5 separate regions of the Homo sapiens genome follow, and all the other regions are linked to region 1. Evidence: promoter capture Hi-C in 16 types of primary human blood cells and fetal thymus (Javierre and others, 2016). All regions are on one chromosome and are shown on one strand. The core of a region is centred on a gene start or on the middle of the fragment in contact, and the rest is flanking DNA. Distances in the headings are between cores, read along the strand shown.

Region 1 (3,791 bases), core at 325-2,824:
GGAGGCCCTCCTGTGCTCTTGGTGAAGATGCCGCTGATAAACTTGAGCATCTTGCGGTCACGAGTGGATGCTCGGCCCCCCTCCCGGCCCCGTTTCAGCCCCGGAGCTGGAGGCTCCAGAGTGATTGGAGGTGCAGGCCCGGGGGGCTGCGCGGAAGCAGCGGTGACAGCAGTGGCTGGACTCGGAGTTGGTGGGAGGGTTAGCGGAGGAGGAGAGCCGGCAGGCGGTCCCGGATGCAAGTCACTGTTGTCCAAGGTCTTACTCTTGCCTTTCCGAGGGGACAACTTCCCTCGGGCTCCAGCCCCAGCCCCGACCCCACCAGAGGTCGAAGCTGTAGAGCCCCCTCCCCCGGCGGCGGCGGCGGTGGCGGCGGCAGAGACCGAAGCTCCAGTCCCGGCGCTGCTCTTTGACCCCTTGACCCTGGGCTTGCCCTCGCTTTCGGGCCATGACAGGCGGCTACCCGCGCCCTTGCCCCCGCCGGCTTTGGCTCCACTCGTGGTCACGGTCTTGCAAGGCTTGGGAGCCGGCGGAGGAGGCGCCACCTTGAGCCTCCGGCTGCCGGTGCCAGGGTGCGGAGAGGATGAGCCAGGGATGCCGCCGCCCGCCCGGCCTTCGGGCTCCGGGCCGCCCCAGCTCGGGCTGCTGAGCAGGGGGCGCCGGGAGGAGGTGGGGGCGCCCCCAGGCTTGGGGTCGGGGCTCAGTCCCCCGGAGAGCGGGGGTCCCGGAGGGACGGCCCAGAGGGAGAGGCGGCGGCCGGGAGCGGGGGAGACTGGGCGGGCCGGACTGGCCGGAGCCGGGGACAGGGCTGGGGGCTCCGCGCCCCCGGTGCCCGCGCTGCTCGTGCTGATCCACAGCGCATCCTGCCGGTGGAAGAGACGTTCGTGCCGCTTCTTGCCCGGCTCCTCCGCGCCTCGGGGGCTGCCAGGATCCCCAGTCTCGGAGCCTCTGGCACCGGCGGCGCCGGCCGCGGCCGCAGACGGAGAAGGCGGCGGCGGAGGCACCGACTCGAGCTTAACCAGGGTCAGCGAGATGAGGTAGGTCGTTGTCCGGCGCTGAAGCGCGCCCGCGCCCCGGCTCATGGGGCCCGGAGACCCCCGAGCTGGGGAGGGGAGGGGACTCCCCCGGACTGCCTCAGGGGGGCCCGGCCATGGGGCCGCCCTGCTCGCTGCCCCCAGCCCCCGGACCCCGCTGAGCCCCCGGCCCGGCTCCGCTGTCGCCGCCGCCTCCGCCGCCTCCGCTTGCGCCCCCCTCCCATCACATGGGGCGCCCCCTCCCCATGCTCCCCGCCCTGCGCCCCCACCCTCTTGGAGCCCCGGGACCTTGGTGCTGCTCCAGGGAGGCGCGCCGGACCGTCCACCCCGGCCTGGGTGGGGGCGCTGAGATGGGTGGGGGAGGGCGGGGAGGACAGTAGTGGGGGCAAATGGGGGAGAGAGAGGAAAAGGGAGCAGAAAAGGGGACCGGAGGCTAGGGGAAACGAACCTGTGCGGGGGAGGCAGGGGCGGGGAATTGGGACTCAAGGGACAGGGGCCGCGGATGCGGTCGGAAAGAGGGTCTAGAGGAGGGTGGGAAGCTAGTGGGGCTGGCCGTGCGGGGGATTCGCAGGGGCGCGGGGAGGATGCTGGGGATGGAGATACAGGAGGCGGCGGGGGAGGAAAGAGGGAACGGGAGGTGGGTGGGAACCCACGGGTCTGGGGTCTGGGAGGGGAGGGGCGTGAGATCCGGGCGAAGAGTCCGGGGGCCTCGCCTGGGCTCGGCTTGGTCCGGATGCGCGCTGTGTCCGGGCGCTCCCCTCACATTGAGGAGGAGGCGGCCCCCAGGCCCCCCCACCCTATCTCCCCCCCACCTTTTCTCCACCAGCACCGATGTCTGCGAGGGCGGTGCAAAATCCAGGGCTGGATTTCTCTCCCAAATCCTGGGCTGGATTTCCTGGGACTTGGACTCACCTCCTCCAACAACCTAGCCCCCTCCTCTCGCGCACCAAGGTTAGGAAGCGCGATTGTGAGGTATGGCATTTAGGGATAAGGGTGAAAATCGATCTATTGGGTGGACAGGGGCCGCGGTAAACAGAGCAAACCCAGGGTCACTGCCAATTCTGGGGAAGATGAAGTGGGAAAGTGGGGGCCCTGAAATCCCTTCCCCCAGGATCTCTTGTCTCCCCCAGGTACCTGGACGGTTCCCGTTCTCATGACCCAGCTCCCTTTCCCACTCACACCACCACATTTAATACTTTGACGGGGCCAAGACTTGAGCTCGACTGTCCCAAAGTGAACTTGGAAAATGTTCCCCAGGGATGGGGACAAACATGGAACTTAGCAGGGTAGGAGAGAAGGGAGAGATCTGAGTGCTGGAGGAGCCCAGGCCACAGGGTAAGTCAAAGGCTCCAGCTCTAGGAGGAGGGAGAAGGATGTGTCTTAGACTGATACCCCCCCATGCCAAAATGCATCCAGTCTCCATAGCAACCGTAGCTCCAAGAGTGCCTCAGAAACAGCGGGCAGAAGCAGAGAGGAATCCGTGTGTATGGTGGGTAGGGGACCAACCGCGGGATGCTGAATTAGTGGAGGCACTGCCCTGACACCTGGCTACCCACAGGTGGAGGATTTCACTCCCCAAGTATAAGGACCCTTCAGTTGAGGCAGTGAGAGCCGGCCTCTTCAGGGTTCCCTTTCAGTCTCCTGAGGTTTGCTGAGTGGGATTCTTTCAGAAGATTAAAGAGGAGGCAGGCAGAGTGAATGGAAACCGTCTGCTCCGTGTCCCCCACCCCTCTAGGGGTCTTGGAGTTCAAGGCTCTCTATCCTCCAGCCAGGTGAGAATCCTGAAGTGGTTAGGCCAAAGTGGAAAAGAGGTTGAGACCCCTTGGGGGTGGGGTAAGATGGGCGAAGGAAGGTCTCTCTGCAGCCTTGGAGACCCCTTCCCGGGACTTGGGGAGTCACAGCAGTCCCCTGATTTGGCGTCCCACCCTCCTGACGCAGCTGAGACTATAATAAGTGCTGCCGTGGGCGGCTCTTGGAGGCAGGAGCCCGCAGCGTGCTTGGCCTGGTGGGGGGCTGAGGGTGGGGGGGCTGAGCCAGGATGCCAGGAGCCCTTTGTTCTCCCAGAGGCCTGTATCCAATCCCTCCAATGTTCTGTCCTGGGGCTCAGCAGTTTCTCCCTCCCTCCCTACAGAACCAAGATGACACCATCCCCAGGACAGGAGACCCTTCAGTAGTGTTTTTTGATGGAGAGGGTGAAGGAGAATTGTTGGCTCTGGCTTAAACTTCCCTCCTTTGATGGCCTCGGTTTTCCTTTATGTTCAATGGGAACAGAATACTAATTCTTAGAGAAGGAGTAAAACAAATCACTTATGAGGAGTGAAGCCTTCTCAGGGATTTCCACCTCCACCCCTCCTCACCCTCCTCCCTCTCCAGAGCTAAGCACAGCTTTTCTGCCTGGCCTAAACCGCTCTTCTCCTTTATTATTATTATCATTATTATTTTTGAGAGGGGTGGGGCTTAGAGTTTCTCCCTAGGAGGCCCCATGGCCCACTCCCCCTTGGTCTGCCTTTCCAAACACTAAGGCTGTCAGGGGAAGCTTCAGGTGTAGTTCCTGGCAAAGGGTATGGGACAGGAGGTGAGAGGGGCACTAGCCTCCGAAGAACAATGGGAAGGGGATCATCAGACTGTCCCACTAGGCATCCAAAGCAAGCTGTTCCTTCCCCAAGTTATACTCTGGTGTACTAGCAGAGAGGTCTGGCAGGAGGTGTCCTTGAGGGAAAGAATGATCTCTTGACAACCACCCAGGTAGGCAGGTAACAA
Region 2 (3,791 bases), core at 552-3,051, 210 kb before region 1:
GGCCCCGGTGACCCCGGGTGGGGCTGGGGTGGGGCCAGCATCAGAGGAGGACATGACCAAGCTGTGCAACCACCGGCGGAAAGCTGTTGCTATGGCAACTCTGTACCGCAGCATGGAGACCACCTGCTCACACTCTTCTCCTGGTGAGTCTTCTGCCACTTTACAGAAGACCGAGGAAAACCTAAGGGCTTGGAAGGCTGGTGGTGGGAGGAGTTCCTTGAGAGGGAGCAAAGAGAAAGGGGAGTGGGTGGGGAGCTGCATGTTGAAAGGAGGGCACAGGGAGGTTGGGAACTTGTGGGAGATGGGACTAGAGAAGACAAAAGAGTTTTTGGAAGGGGAGCCACAGGCTGACCCTTCATTTTTCATTTATTGCAGGAGAGGGAGCGAGCCCCCAAATGTTCCACACTGTGTCCCCAGGGCCCCCCTCTGCCCGCCCTCCCTGTCGAGTTCCTCCTACAACTCCACTTAATGGGGGTCCTGGCTCCCTTCCCCCAGAACCACCCTCAGTTTCCCAGGCCTTTCCCACTCTAGCAGGCCCTGGGGGGCTTTTCCCCCCAAGGCTTGCTGACCCAGTCCCTTCTGGGGGCAGTAGCAGCCCCCGTTTCCTCCCAAGGGGCAATGCCCCCTCTCCAGCCCCACCTCCTCCACCTGCTATCAGCCTCAATGCTCCCTCATACAACTGGGGAGCTGCCCTCAGATCCAGCCTGGTGCCCTCTGACCTGGGCTCTCCTCCGGCCCCTCATGCCTCCTCCTCACCACCTTCAGACCCTCCTCTCTTCCACTGTAGTGATGCCTTAACACCCCCTCCCCTGCCCCCGAGCAATAATCTCCCCGCCCACCCTGGTCCTGCCTCTCAGCCACCAGTGTCTTCAGCCACTATGCACCTGCCCCTGGTCCTGGGGCCCCTGGGAGGGGCCCCCACGGTGGAGGGGCCTGGGGCACCCCCCTTCCTTGCTAGCAGCCTACTCTCTGCAGCGGCCAAGGCACAGCATCCCCCACTACCCCCTCCCAGCACTTTACAGGGCCGAAGGCCCCGTGCCCAGGCACCCTCAGCTTCCCACTCCTCATCACTTCGTCCCTCTCAGCGTCGTCCCCGCAGACCCCCTACTGTATTTCGATTGCTAGAAGGGAGAGGCCCTCAAACCCCTAGACGGAGCCGTCCTCGGGCCCCTGCTCCTGTCCCCCAACCCTTTTCTCTCCCGGAGCCATCCCAACCAATTCTCCCTTCTGTGCTGTCCCTGCTGGGACTCCCCACCCCTGGCCCTTCCCACTCTGATGGAAGCTTTAACCTTTTGGGGTCAGATGCACACCTTCCTCCTCCCCCAACCCTCTCCTCAGGGAGCCCTCCCCAGCCCAGGCACCCCATCCAGCCCTCCCTGCCTGGGACCACCAGTGGCAGCCTCAGCAGTGTGCCAGGTATGTGAGTATTGTGGAGCCCTTCCTCATCCTGGCTGGAAAGAGGCAGCCAAGGCATTTAGGGGAATGTTCAGAGAGCTCTTTGAGGGTTTTCTGGGTTGGGGGCAGGGAGGTTGGCTTCTTTGGATGATGGGAGAAAGGGCCTCCCTTGAGCTGAATTTCTCTCCTCTTTTACAGGTGCCCCTGCCCCACCAGCTGCCTCCAAAGCCCCAGTAGTCCCCAGCCCTGTGCTTCAAAGCCCATCCGAAGGACTGGGGATGGGGGCAGGCCCGGCCTGCCCTCTGCCTCCCCTGGCTGGTGGAGAGGCTTTCCCTTTCCCCAGCCCTGAGCAGGGCCTGGCACTGAGTGGAGCTGGCTTCCCTGGGATGCTTGGGGCCTTGCCTCTCCCTCTGAGTCTGGGGCAGCCTCCACCTTCTCCATTGCTCAACCACAGTTTATTTGGTGTGCTGACTGGGGGAGGAGGACAACCTCCCCCTGAGCCCCTGCTACCCCCACCAGGAGGACCTGGTCCTCCCCTAGCCCCAGGAGAGCCTGAAGGGCCTTCGCTTTTGGTGGCTTCCTTGCTTCCTCCACCACCCTCAGACCTTCTTCCACCTCCTTCAGCACCTCCCAGCAACCTCCTTGCCTCTTTCCTGCCCCTGTTGGCTCTGGGCCCCACAGCTGGGGATGGGGAGGGATCTGCAGAGGGAGCCGGGGGTCCAAGTGGGGAGCCATTTTCAGGCTTGGGAGACCTGTCCCCCCTACTTTTCCCCCCACTTTCAGCCCCCCCTACCCTCATAGCTTTAAATTCTGCGCTGCTGGCTGCCACCCTGGATCCCCCCTCGGGGACACCCCCCCAGGTGAGGATGGGGGTGAGTAGGTGGGACAGAACAAGATGTAGAATAAGAGATGGGAGCTGGGAATCAAAAGCTTTCAGTTTCATTCCTGAGCTCTTCCTTGGGGCCTTTGGGGAGGCCTTAGTTCTTGGCTGGGGGTAGGATGACTGCAAGAATTGGGTCTGTATTTAATAAGCATGGCCTATCTCACTTGAGGCTTCAGTCAGATAGTGGATGTGAAAGCACTATAAATCTGTTGAGTATTTTACACGCGTAAGTGTTAGAATCATTCTTTTTTCTTAGCCCTGTGTCCTGAGTGCCCCCCAACCTGGACCACCTACCTCCAGTGTCACCACGGCAACTACTGACCCGGGGGCCTCCTCTCTGGGCAAGGCCCCCTCCAACTCAGGGAGACCCCCCCAACTCCTTAGCCCTCTGCTGGGTGCCAGCCTGCTGGGTGAGTCTGAGGGAGTGTGAATTCACACTCTTGGTGTGAAAAAGCAGGAGTAAAACTTGGGAGTAGTGGCTGAATAAATTGGGGAAGAAAGTCTTTGGCCACTGGATAAAGCCTAAAGAGAATAGTAGGTCTGCTCAGCCTAATTGGTTTGCCTAGGGAGAGACCCCTGACTATAATTTCTCAACAGGTGACCTGTCTTCACTGACCAGCAGCCCTGGAGCCCTCCCCAGCCTGTTGCAGCCTCCTGGCCCTCTTCTCTCTGGCCAGTTGGGGCTGCAGCTCCTCCCTGGGGGGGGAGCTCCTCCACCCCTCTCAGAGGCTTCTAGTCCCCTAGCCTGCCTGCTACAGAGTCTCCAGGTGAGGGTGTGGGCATATATTTGTCAGGGAGATAATTTTTTCTCAAACTGGAAATTTAGGGCTTTCTGAGTTATAGTAGAAGAGGGACGGTATTTGAGATTGACTGAGAACTTATTTTTTTGCCAGCAGATCCCTCCAGAGCAGCCAGAAGCCCCCTGTCTACCCCCCGAGAGCCCTGCCTCAGCCCTCGAACCAGAGCCTGCCAGGCCTCCCCTCAGTGCCTTAGCCCCACCCCATGGTTCTCCCGACCCCCCAGTCCCTGAGCTGCTCACTGGGAGGGGGTCAGGGAAACGGGGCCGGAGGGGAGGAGGGGGACTTAGGGGCATTAATGGTGAGGCCAGGCCAGCCCGGGGCCGAAAGCCTGGCAGCCGGCGGGAGCCTGGCCGACTGGCCCTCAAATGGGGGACACGTGGTGGCTTCAATGGACAAATGGAAAGGTCCCCAAGAAGAACCCACCATTGGCAGCATAATGGGGAGCTGGCTGAAGGGGGTGCTGAGCCCAAGGATCCACCCCCTCCCGGGCCCCATTCTGAGGACCTTAAGGTGAGTGCAGAGTGCTGGTAGTCTGGGCTCAGGGGCTCTGAGGAAAGGTTGGGGCTTTGGAGCCTTTTTCGAAATTTCCCACACACATAGTCCATCTTTTCTCAGGTGCCCCCGGGAGTAGTCAGAAAGTCTCGTCGTGGCCGTAGGAGAAAATACAAGTGAGTGTTGGGCCTACTATAGTGCTGGCCTTTGCCTACTTCTTT
Region 3 (3,791 bases), core at 488-2,987, 190 kb before region 1:
ATGTATCCGTACCTAATTACTCCATCCTCAGAATTCTCGGATCTAAAAATGCAACCACAGTCTCACATCCGCTGATGTGAAATATTTACATTCTTCCTCAAATTTGTTTTGCTCTAAAATCTTGGAATCACTTTCTTAATTCCTTGCCCAATGGATACTGGATATTCATATGGAAAAAGTATTTCTCCATATTTCAAAGTCTAGTTCTTGGTAGCAGTTTATTACAAGTGCCCAGGCTTCATGATTCATTTCCATGGGTTAGAACCCAGGGGCCTAAGTCACTAGCTCCAAACCTGTTTTGAGATATTTCAATTTTATTTAAAAGGCCCAAGAATCAGGGCTTTGCAAACAGATGTTGTTAGCTGTAATTCCGCTGACTTGACTCTCCCTCCTGCCATTGCTCATTGGTGGCTGCAAGCCCAGCAAGGTCTTTGCAAGCCCTGCAACCTATATACCACCCAGGCTGGGGTTGGCATACCCGCTTATTGCTGTAGCTCCCCCGAGAAAGGGAAGGACCTGTCTAGGGGAGAAAGGTCAGAGTCCGGAGGAGTCTGTGGCAGCACACATTCTTACCGCATCGAACTCCGCTTGATCATCCTCAGGTAGGTCGCTAGTTTCATAAACATCTGGCTCATTCCTGGCCTGCAGGTAGAAGCAGTGACCACCCAACCTCACTACCCAGCATCCAACAACACCCCTTCCCCCACTCCATTTGAATAAGCTAACAGAGAAGGCGGGGTGTGATGTCAGGGTTCTGTCCTTTCTCCTCCACCTGCCCCGTGAGTCAACAGTATGTCAGTTCCCATGTCTCAAGGGGTAGGGATGACAGCGGAAACAATTGGGACCTGACAGTAAACGGTGAGTGTAAGTGATAGCAACGATGTTACCCTAAATCTAGAGGCGGGCAGGTCCTTGGCAATCACTATTGCCAAAGAAGGTGAAGGCTATCCTCCAATTAGGCCCCGTACACCACCACCCTGGCACAAGGATTGAGAGTGACTCAGGACCTTAGTACTCAAGGTCCTGTGTCCCAACCCTCACCTTGAGAAGCAGGCAGGGCAGCACAAAAGGAAGGTACACGCCAGGATTGTCATGGGAGTGGGGGCTGGGGGAGGGCATAGGTTCCCTCAAGGATAGAGCTCCCCATCTGGCACAAGAGGGTTCTGCCAGATGGCAGAACCTCTTCCTTGGCAGGATGAAGGCCATCGTTAAGTGGTCTGGTGTGTGTGTCTGGGGTAGCGATGGGGTCTTATGGAGAGATTTGGGGGGGACATGGGAGGCGTTGACACGGATGGTGGAAAAACTCAGGCACAAGAGGTCAGTACCCGGAGTCGATTTCTGGGCCGAGCTACCGGCGACTGCCGGAAAGGGGGCCTGGTGCGCCGTCCGGCGGCCCGGCCCAGTCGGGTCAGAAGAGTTCGGGGGGTGCTGAGGCCGATCGGAGAACGAGCGGCGGGAGCCCTTGGGCGGAGGATGGGCTGCAGGCGGGAGGGGTCGCGGGCTGGTTTCTGCTGGGGGTCCTTGGGAGGTCGGGGGCGCGGTCCTGGGGAGCCGGGGCCGGTCCTGTACTCACAATGCCGGGAAGGTCGGCGTATTTAGGGTCCGCCATGGCGGCGGCGAGACGGGCTGGGGGACCCGGGCCTCGGTGGAGCCGGGGCCGGTGTTCGGGTAGGGGAGAGGCTGGGTTCGGGTCCCGGGCTAAGGCGGCGGCAAAGGGAGCGGCAGATGAGCAGGAAGTCTCGCGACAGCAGTAGCACAGCAGAAGGGTAAAGCAAAAGTCGCGAGAACAGCCCTGCTGCCACACCCCTGGAGAGGCCGGGATTGGGGAGAACGAGGCCAGGGAATGAGGTAATGGCCAGGGGACGCCGCCTAGGATTGTGGGATGTGTAGTTTTGGTGTACTGGAGCTTGGGCGGGGAGCGACAATAACGAACCTTGGGGAGCTATTTCATACAGCCTTTTCTCTCACTTTTACAGCAAGTCAGTGAAAGAACATTTATAATTCCTGTTTGGGGCTCCCAGGAATAAAATGACTAGATTAAATGATACAGGTAGTCATACTGTGACACAGCCGGGGTTTCAAAAACAAGAAGTTTGCTTGATACTGTGTATTATAAAAACAAAATAAAAACAAGAAGTAAAATTTAGTAAACGCGTAGTGTATGTTAGGAATGAAAAAGTTAGGCAATCTTCTCAAGTAAGGGCTTTCAGATAATTTGAATTTCAGATAATAAGTAGGTGTGTGTGTGTGGTGTGTGGTGTGTGGGTATACTAACCCCCCAAAAATTAAGTATCTGAAATTCACATTTAACTGGGCATCCTGTTTTTGTTTTTTGTTTTTCAAATCTGGCAATTCTATCTGAAGTTCATAAGTAGGTAAGTGGTGTCTCCATGTCTGTCTGAACACTCTCTGGGCTCTTAACTACTTCGTTAATAGTTCTCAGACTTTTATTTATTTTTCAATTTTTTCAATTTTGTGGGTACACAGTAGGTGTATGTATTTATGGGACACATGAGATATTTTGATACAGGCATGCAATGTGAAATAAGCACATCATGGAGAAGAGGGTATCCATCCTCTCAAGCATTTATCCTTTAAGTTACAAATAATCCAATTACTCTTTAAGTTATTTTAAAATGTACAGTTGAGTTATTCTTGACTATAGTCACCCTATTGTGCCATCAAATAGTAGGTCTTATTATACTTTCTAATTTTTTGTACCTATTCACCAACCTTACCTTCCGTTCTCAGACTTTTAAATTTCATCGTTCAATAAAATTAAAACAACTACAAACCTTGAAGATTTGCCTTTTTATTTTATCAAGTAAGTATATTACAAATAGAAAACCTATTATTTACTGTCACCATCATTACTTGGTAGAAAAGCAAGAAGGACACACTCAGAATAAAAGATAGTCCTTTGAAACTTATCAAATCCATCTTTATATTAAAAAAAAACTCACCATTGTTCTTTTGGAGGTGAGGGCATACTCAGTGAACTTTTGTCTCTGACCAGTGACCCTCCATGGACTGGCATTTTGAAACCCCTTTACTAAAGATGCCACCTTGGAGCCCCTGGGGACCCAAGGATGGGATGTTTCCCAGGATGTTTCCTGAGCTTGCAGGATGCTGCAACACTTAGAAATTGTGCCAAACCAAGTGACTAGAGAGTTCCTGAGTTCGGAACTCGTTGTCTTTCTTTCTCCTGGCTCCTCCCCAAGCCTCTATCCCTTTCTCCATAGTCCTACAGCTTTCCTGTCCCATTCCTTATGTTGGACTCTTTTCTTTCAGTTCCCTTAAGATTCAAGGTAGGTTAGAGGTGTAGCCCCAATGTGGGAAACCCCCTGAGTTCTGAATAGTTAGGTCTTGTCTGGCCAGGCTATCAGCCTCTTACTTTTGTCCCATAGTGTCTTAAGTGACCTTAACCACTCACCAGACAGTTGCTGAGCAGAACTTTCCTTTCCTCCTCCTTCTCCCATCCACCCTGCCCTTCCTCTTTGCCTAGAACCTCAACTCCTGCAGTCCAACTCTCTGTTGGCCAGCAGAGGCCTGTGACATGGAGAAAAATCAATTTGGCCAGCTTCTTGGTGGTTCTTTCCAGGGGCTGCAGCAGGAGTCTGACCCAAAGGAAGGAAGGACAAGGAATCTCTGGGCTTGGCATTTCTTTCGTTTTTCTTCCCCCACACCTTTTTTTTTTTGGCCAGGGAAGGGGGCTGAAGTATTGGGACTCTATCCTCCAATGGTTACTGAGACAGAAAACACACACTCCCGTAGGTATCTGAATTTGCCTG
Region 4 (3,791 bases), core at 772-3,271, 170 kb before region 1:
TGAATTGTTCTTCAATTTTCATCACCTGTGGCCCTATTGTCTTTTTTCATCTGGTTTCCCAGGGAGGAGTTTGGGGTAGTGGAGTGCTCAATCATCACACCACGACTAAGATCCCCTAACACAATCTCACTGTGCGACACTCCTCTACCCCACAGACACAACTCCTGGCATCAGTACCTTTAGTTTCTCTTATTCTCCCACATTTCTTTTCTTTTCTTCTTCTTTTTTTTTTTGAGATGGAGTCTCGCTCTATCGCCAGGCTGGAGTGCAGTGGCGCAATCTCGGCTCACTGCAACCTCTGCCTCTCGGGTTCAAGCGATTCTCCTGTCTCTGCCTCCCGAGTAGCTGGGACTACAGGCACGTGCCACCACACCAGGCTAATTTTTGTATTTTTAGTAGAGACGGGGTTTCACCATATTGGTCAGGCTGGTCTTGAACTCCTGACCTCGTGATCCGCCTGCCTCAGCCTCTTAAAATGATGGGATTACAGGTGTGAGCCACCACGCCCGGCCATTCTCCCACATTTCTGTTCATTAAGGGCATTGAAGAAAAGGGTGCCTTTCTCAGCTGCTGGAAGGAGGTTGTGGTATTTCTTTTCCCTCACATCCTGCCTGTTGACGTCTGATATCTTTTATTTTCATTCCAGGGGAAGCCATATGTTTTTGACCGTGTATTCCCCCCAAACACGACTCAAGAGCAAGTTTATCATGCATGTGCCATGCAGATTGTCAAAGGTAATAGATTTCTTTTTAGAATGTCTCTTCTCAGCACCCCATTTCCTACCCGACCTATCTCCACCAGTACTCTTTCTCTACTGTCTCTTCCAGATGTCCTTGCTGGCTACAATGGCACCATTTTTGCTTATGGACAGACATCCTCAGGGAAAACACATACCATGGAGGTGAGGGTTCTGGCTTTGGTGGTTGAGGGGCTAGGAGTGTTAATGGAAGATCAGGGAATCTCAGTGGGGGAAGGTCTAGGAATCAAGGATTGCCTGGTCCAGAGGCAGATAGATGAGTACAGAGGATGAACTGAAGGGCAATATTAGGGGAAGTTTAATGGAATCCCTCCAACCCACTGCAGTGGATCATCCTTTCCACTACTCCAGTCTTCTTTTGATCGGGAAAAGCAATGGAAGTCCAAAGGGCTACTCAATTATCTCCTTGCTCCTCTAAAAGGCAGACATGGTGGTGACCATCTCCTAACTTAGGATGTTCTTCTTATTGACTCTTGCCTTGGTGTTCACCTGCATACATCTGAGTTGTCTCATTCTCCCTGAGCCCCAGCTTCACTCTCAAATACCTTCACTCGCCAGGGAAAGCTGCACGACCCTCAGCTGATGGGAATCATTCCTCGAATTGCCCGAGACATCTTCAACCACATCTACTCCATGGATGAGAACCTTGAGTTCCACATCAAGGTGACCAGGGCACGACAGCTGGGCATTCAGATGGGGACTGGGAGGGGAAGATCTAAAATCTTCCCACTGAAGAGCCTGGGCTCCCCAACTTGACTCCCTTTCCGGTTACCAGAGTTCTTTGTCAAGATGTTCTCTTCTGTTCTTTTCCTCCCACCACCGTTTGAGCAGGTCACATTAGTATGGGATTCCTGAACTAGATTTAAGATAGGCCCTCTTTACTTCACACTCCTTCTTTCTTCTTAACCAGGTTTCTTACTTTGAAATTTACCTGGACAAAATTCGTGACCTTCTGGATGGTGAGTGTTTTGTCCCAGTGGATGAGGGTGTGTGAGGAGGGTGGAGAAAAGAAAGCTCACATTGCATTTGGAATTAGGTACCAATTGACAAGAGATGCAGAGGGCACACAGCACCCAAGTCTTTTGGCCCCGTTTACCAGAATTTCCAAAAACTGAGAAGGTCAGGAGATGAGCTTAGCAGCCAAGGACTACATATAAACAGTTCGAGAGGATCTGGGGCCGAGGAGCAGGAGCCCTGAGGAGGAGAAGGAGGAGGAACTGAGCCTTCAGCTCGTGCAGGGAGTTTAGGCTTCACAGGGAGAGTCTTCCTTTAGCACAGAGAAGAAAACCACCATCTGAGCTGACTGCAAGGTGCAGATGGGGGCGGTGGAAGTACTAGTCTTGCTTACCCTGCATTCTTTTGATTCAGTGACCAAGACAAATCTGTCCGTGCACGAGGACAAGAACCGGGTGCCATTTGTCAAGGTGAGAGTGGGTGTGGGGCACCTATGTGGGGCCAGTGTATTGAGAATGTTGGTGGGGGAGGAGCATAGGTCAGTGACCCTGAAGTTGGAGGGTGGATATCCTGGAGGAATGAGATGTGCCTAGGGGCCAGGGAGAGTCTAGGGGATCAGAAAAGATACTGTCTTGGCTGGGCATGGTGGCTCATACCTGTAATCCCAGCACTTTGGGAGGCTGAGGTGGGTGGATCACTTGAGGCCGGGAGTTCAAGACCAGCCTGGCCAATATAGTGAAACCCCGTTTCTACTAAAAATACAAAAAATTAACTGGGCGTGGTGGCACATGCTTGTAATCCCAGCTATTTGGGACACTGAAGCAGGAGAATCTCTTGAACCTGGGAGGCAGAGGTTGCGGTGAGCCGAGATTGCGCCACTGCACTCCAGCCTGGGCGACAGAGTGAGAACCTGTCTTTAAAAAAAAAGAAGAAAAGAAAAGATACTGTCTTGAAAGGTCATTGGTCAGTGTGCATGCAATTTAATTTGCAAATCAAAGTTTACTGGAAGAAATGCCTGTAATCCCAACACTTTAGAAGGCTGAGGTGGGAGGATCACTTGAGGAGTTCAAGATCAGCCTGGCCAACATAGCAAGACCCGTCTCTCTTATTTAATCTAATTTTTTTTTTTTTTTTTTTTGGAGACAGAGTCTCACTCTGTTGCCCAGGCTGGAGTGCAGTGGCTCGACCTAGGGTCACTGCAACCTCCCTGTCCTGGGTTCAAACGATTCTCCTGCGTCAGGCTCCCGAGTAGCTGGGACTACAGGCATGTGCCACCACGCCTGGCTGATTTTAGTATTTTTAGTAGAGACGGGGTTTCACCATGTTGGCCAGGCTGGTCTCTAATTCCTGACCTCAGGTGATCCACCTGCCTCAGCCTCCCAAAGTGCTGGAATTACAGGCATGAGCCACTATGCTGAGTCTCTTGTTTAAAAAAAAAAAAAAATTTTTGTCAGGCATGGTGGCACACACCTGTAGTCCCAGCTACTCAGGAGGCTGAGGCGGGAGAATTGCTTGAGCTCAAGAGTTTGAGGTTGCAGTGAGCCATGATAGTGCCACTGCACTCCAGCCTGTGTAGTAGAGAGACAGTGGTTTTTTTTGTTTGTTTGTTTTTGTTTTTGGAGACAGATTCTCACTCTGTCACCCAGGCTGTAGTGCAATGGCATGATCTTGGCTCACTGCAACCTCTGCCTCCTGGGTTCAAGTGATTCTCCTGCCTCAGCCTCCCAAGCATATGGGATTATAGGTGCCTGCCACCAGGCCCACTTATTTTTGTATTTTTAGTAGAGATGGGGTTTCACCATGTTAGCCAGGCTAGTCTCGAACTCCTGACCTCAGGTGATCCGCCCACCTCAGCCTCCCAGTGTGCTGGCATTACAGGCATAAGCCACTGCACCTGGCTGCGACAGTGTTTTTTTTTTTTTGAGACAGAGTTTCTCTCTTGTTGCCCAGGCTGGGGTACAGTGGCGCCCGATCTTGGCTTACTGCAACCTCAGCCTCCCGAGTTCAAGTGATTCTCCTGCCTCAGCCTCCTGAGTAGCTGGAATTACAGGCATGTGCCACCACGTCTGGCTAATTTTGT
Region 5 (3,791 bases), core at 929-3,428, 140 kb after region 1:
GGGCCACAGATGCATGTCACTGTGCCCAGCTAATTAAAATTTTTTTTGTAGAGACGGGGTCTCGCTATGTTGCTCAGGCTGGTCTCAAACTCCTGGGCTCAAGCAATCTGTCTACCTTGGCCTCCCAAATTGCTGGGATTATTGGCATGACCACCACGCCTGGCCTCAAGCCTTATTTAAAGCCACCTCTTCCTCTGGACTTCACAGTAAATTGAGCCAATAAATTCTCCATATTGTTTAAACCAGTTGAATTGGAGATTGGTTTACTGCAACCTAAAGATTCCTAACTGATACAGAAATGAGTTCCATAAGGTGTTTCAAGAGACAGGCCCTAAAAATGGGATTGTCCAACCAAAGAAGTAAGATGAAGGATAAAGAACCCCTACATTTTCGGCTGAGAAATTGGCCATCTAATTAGCTATACAGTTTCCTGTTGTGACTTGGGGTGCAGATTACACAATCTGCGGCTGTAGCGGTACACTACTTAGTAGAAAAATGTAGAGTGTTGGATTGGGTTGGCTCCTTCTTGTTAATATTAATAAAGTACTGTAAAAAGGTAAGTTGCTGGCCTGGTGCAGTGGCTCACGCCTGTAATCCCAGCACTTTGGGAGACCAAGGTGGGCGGATCACGAGGTCAGGAGTTCGAGGCCAGCCTGATCAGCATGGTGAAACCCCGTCTCTACGAAAAATACAAAAATTAGCCCAGCATGGTGGTGCACACCTGTAATCCCAGCTACTCGGGAGGCTGAGGCAGGAGAATCTCTTGAACCCAGGAGGTGGAGGTTGCAGTGAGCTGAGATCATGCCACTGCCCTCCAGCCTGGGTGACAGAGCGAGACTCCGTCTCAAAAAAAAAAAAAAAAAAAAAGGGTAAGCTTATGTTCAAACTAGCTTACCCCAAAACAGAGAAGGAAGAAAATACAGCTTTGATAAGAGAAGCCCTTTCTGCCTACGGTAAAAAAAAAAAAAAAAAAAAAAAAAAATGGCTGAGAGGACTAGAAAGCCCTGAAAACTTTGTCCCAAGGTATGTTAGTATTAGGTTAGTGCAAAAGTAATTGCGTTTTTTGCCATCGAAAAGAATTGCAAAACTGCAATTACTTTTGCACTAACCTAATGTGAACAGAAACAGGGATGGGGGATTGCATTGTATGGGATATGGGATATGAGATATGGGATATGGGATACAAGATATGGGATATGGGATATGGAACATGGGACATGGGACATGGGATATGGATATGGTCTATGGGATATGAATATGGGCTATGGGACATGGATATGAGGTATGGGATATGGATATAGGCTATGGGATATGGATGTGGGATATGGATATGGGATGTGGGATATGGATATGGGATATGGGATGTGGATGTGGGATATGGATATGGGATATGGGCTATGCCATATGGGATATGGATGTGGGATATGGGATATGGATGTGGAATATGGATATGGGCTATGGGCTATGGATGTGGGATATGGATATGGGCTATGGGCTACGGATGTGGGATATGGGATATGGAATATGGGATATGGATGTGGGATATGGGATATGGGATATTGATGTGGGATATGGATGTGGGATATGGATATGGGCTATGGGCTATGGATGTGGGATATGGATATGGGATATGGATATGGGCTATGGATGTGGGATATGGGATATGGAATATGGGACATGGGATATGGGCTGTGGGATATGAGATATGGGGTATGGATGTGGGATATGGGATATGAGATATGGGCTATGGATGTGGGATATGGGCTATGGACTATGGGATATGGATGTGGGCTATAGGATATGGAATATGGGATATAGGATATGGGATATGGTTGATGGCTTATCCCTAGCCCTTTCCCAAGCACCTCCTGCTTTTTATTCCTCCTAAAACAAAGGTGACCATAACTTCCATGACAGATGTAAGTGGGACACAGCCTATTGGCAACGACCAGATTTAGAGTGCCTCCCAGGCAGTTTCTTCAAGTTGTTCAAAGGTACAGTTTGAGACTAAACGTAAGGCTGGGTATTTGGGAAGAGAACTAAGACCTATTTGCTTAGTGAAAGAAATACCCAGGCCAGACTCCAGACTCAAAGACTAGTCTCACAAAGAGCTCTGGTTTTGGCCGGGCGCGGTGGCTCACGCCTGTAATCTCAGCACTTTAGGAGGCGGAGGCGGGCGGATCGCCTGAGGTCGGGAGTTCTAGACCAGACTGACCACCATGGAGAAACCCCATCTCTACTAAAAATACAAAAATTAGCTGGGCTTGGTGGCGCCTACCTGTAATCCCAGCTACTCGAGAGGCTGAGGCAGGAAAATTCCTTGAACCTGGGAGGTGGAGGTTGCAGGGAGCCGAGATCATGCCATTGCACTCCAGCCTGGGCAACAAGAATGAAACTCTGTCTCAAGGGGAGCTCTGGTTTCATATACTAGCTCATAGAATCAACCAGAAGCAAATAAACTTGAAGCCCACAAAGAAACTTCAAGCTCAGATGACAATGGCTAGAGACTTCAACTCCTAACATAATTCTCAGGTCCCAAAGCACAACGAATTTGTCTTCACAGAACCACTGCTTTAATGTCTTCTGTGAACATTAAAACAGTGGTTCTCACACTTTTGTGTACAGAAGACGTTTATTAAAAATACAGATTATTGGGCTTCATCCCCAAAGAATCTGATTCCTTCCATCTGGGATTGGGCTTGGGGATCTGCATTATTAACAAATATCCTTGATGATCCACATGTGGGTGGCCAGGGAGCCCCGCTTTGGGAAACACTGCATTGAAGGAAATTATTACTTTTTTTTTTTGAGACGGAATCTCGCTCTGTTGCCCAGGCTGGAGTGCAGTGGTATGATCTCGGCTCACTGCAACCTCTGCCTCCTGGGTTCAAGCAATTCTCCTGCCTCAGCCTCCCCAGTAGCTGGGATTACAGGCCCATGCCACCACACCCGGCTAATATATATATATGTTTTTAGTTTTTGTATTTTTAGTAGAGACGGGGTTTCACCACATTGGTCAGGCTGGTCTCGAACTCCTGACCTCGTGATCCGCCGGCCTCGGCTTCCCAAAGTGCTGGGATTACAGGCATGAGTCACGGCGCCTGGCCTAGTATTAAATTCTTTAGGGATGATCAGCAGGACTCATTTTGTCCTGATAGTATCTGTGCACTGTGTAGGGCCCAGACTGAGAGCTCAGCACAGCCTTGTCTATTAGACCTGAAAAGCATGGGTTTCTGGAACCAAGGTGGTTTTGGGAAGTAAGCAGACTATGATTCCAGGAACTGATTTGCCCTGAGTCCCTGCTCCCTTACTTCTTGATCATGTTTAATTCTGCCTTGGCTCTATTAGGATTGCTTTGTCCAGACACTGACCTGGCAGTGAGTGTGCCTGGGATCCTCTGTCAGTGTCCCTTGTATAGTCAGAGAGTTCTGGACACATCTGTGGGAGGTAGAGAATGTGACAAACCCTGGGGAGAGTGTTTACTAAGCTTTTCCATGTTTATTTTCTTTCCTCCATCTCACCTTAGGACAGGGAGTATTCTGAAAGCCTTAGTGAAGCAGTGACACTTTTCTGGCACCTTGAATGACTCATATGTCTCAGTGCCACACACCCTCCATTGAAGGCCTTGGGATTGTCAAGGTCAGGATATTTAAAGTCACATTCTTGGGAGTGATCTGGACATTGCCAGGTCAGCTCAGGATGAGGGAGGTGCCCAGAGACAGCTGTCAGTGTCAGTGCCCATAGTTTATGGTGAGTCTAATAGTAAATGCCAGTTATAGGTATGGTCTTAT

What was found. The method cuts DNA at HindIII sites, captures the fragments that hold promoters and counts their contacts. A CHiCAGO score of 5 or more calls a contact.
Region 2: a fragment that was not itself captured here is called in contact with the fragment with the promoter of AGAP2 in region 1 in 12 of 17 cell types (naive CD8 T cells, naive CD4 T cells, M1 macrophages and 9 more); the score reaches 8.0 in naive CD8 T cells.
Region 3: the fragment with the promoter of DCTN2 here is called in contact with the fragment with the promoter of AGAP2 in region 1 in 10 of 17 cell types (M1 macrophages, M2 macrophages, M0 macrophages and 7 more); the score reaches 11.2 in M1 macrophages.
Region 4: a fragment that was not itself captured here is called in contact with the fragment with the promoter of AGAP2 in region 1 in 12 of 17 cell types (M1 macrophages, erythroblasts, M2 macrophages and 9 more); the score reaches 19.4 in M1 macrophages.
Region 5: a contact is called between a fragment that was not itself captured here and the fragment with the promoter of AGAP2 in region 1, in 1 of 17 cell types (M2 macrophages). The highest score is 5.5, in M2 macrophages.

Annotation. Positions count from the first base shown.
Region 1 is chr12:57,737,168-57,740,958 of GRCh38, forward strand. AGAP2 (ArfGAP with GTPase domain, ankyrin repeat and PH domain 2) reads right to left here and starts at 1,575. Exons shown (of 19, transcript NM_001122772.3): 1 at 1-1,575. The coding sequence starts at 1,079. RefSeq lists a silencer at 728-947. The HindIII fragment of the contact is 3,748 bases long and covers 1-3,565 here.
Region 2 is chr12:57,524,973-57,528,763 of GRCh38, forward strand. MBD6 (methyl-CpG binding domain protein 6) reads left to right here. Exons shown (of 13, transcript NM_052897.4): 5 at 1-143; 6 at 376-1,416; 7 at 1,594-2,255; 8 at 2,535-2,688; 9 at 2,876-3,045; 10 at 3,175-3,588; 11 at 3,694-3,746. Among named protein-coding and RNA genes, the nearest start is that of MBD6, 4.0 kb to the left of the region's middle. The HindIII fragment of the contact is 1,043 bases long and covers 1,281-2,323 here.
Region 3 is chr12:57,545,455-57,549,245 of GRCh38, forward strand. DCTN2 (dynactin subunit 2) reads right to left here and starts at 1,738. Exons shown (of 14, transcript NM_001261413.2): 1 at 1,574-1,738; 2 at 574-642. The coding sequence starts at 1,609. RefSeq lists an enhancer at 1,867-2,006. The HindIII fragment of the contact is 9,827 bases long and covers 1-3,791 here.
Region 4 is chr12:57,562,793-57,566,583 of GRCh38, forward strand. KIF5A (kinesin family member 5A) reads left to right here. Exons shown (of 29, transcript NM_004984.4): 2 at 647-734; 3 at 828-901; 4 at 1,316-1,420; 5 at 1,668-1,716; 6 at 2,126-2,181. Among named protein-coding and RNA genes, the nearest start is that of KIF5A, 15 kb to the left of the region's middle. RefSeq lists a silencer at 280-497. The HindIII fragment of the contact is 4,556 bases long and covers 1-3,791 here.
Region 5 is chr12:57,878,133-57,881,923 of GRCh38, forward strand. All of the region lies in intron 1 of LOC283387 (a long non-coding RNA gene), which reads right to left. The region is part of intron 1 of LOC124902948 (a long non-coding RNA gene); the gene reads left to right. Among named protein-coding and RNA genes, the nearest start is that of CTDSP2, 33 kb to the left of the region's middle. The HindIII fragment of the contact is 2,613 bases long and covers 873-3,485 here.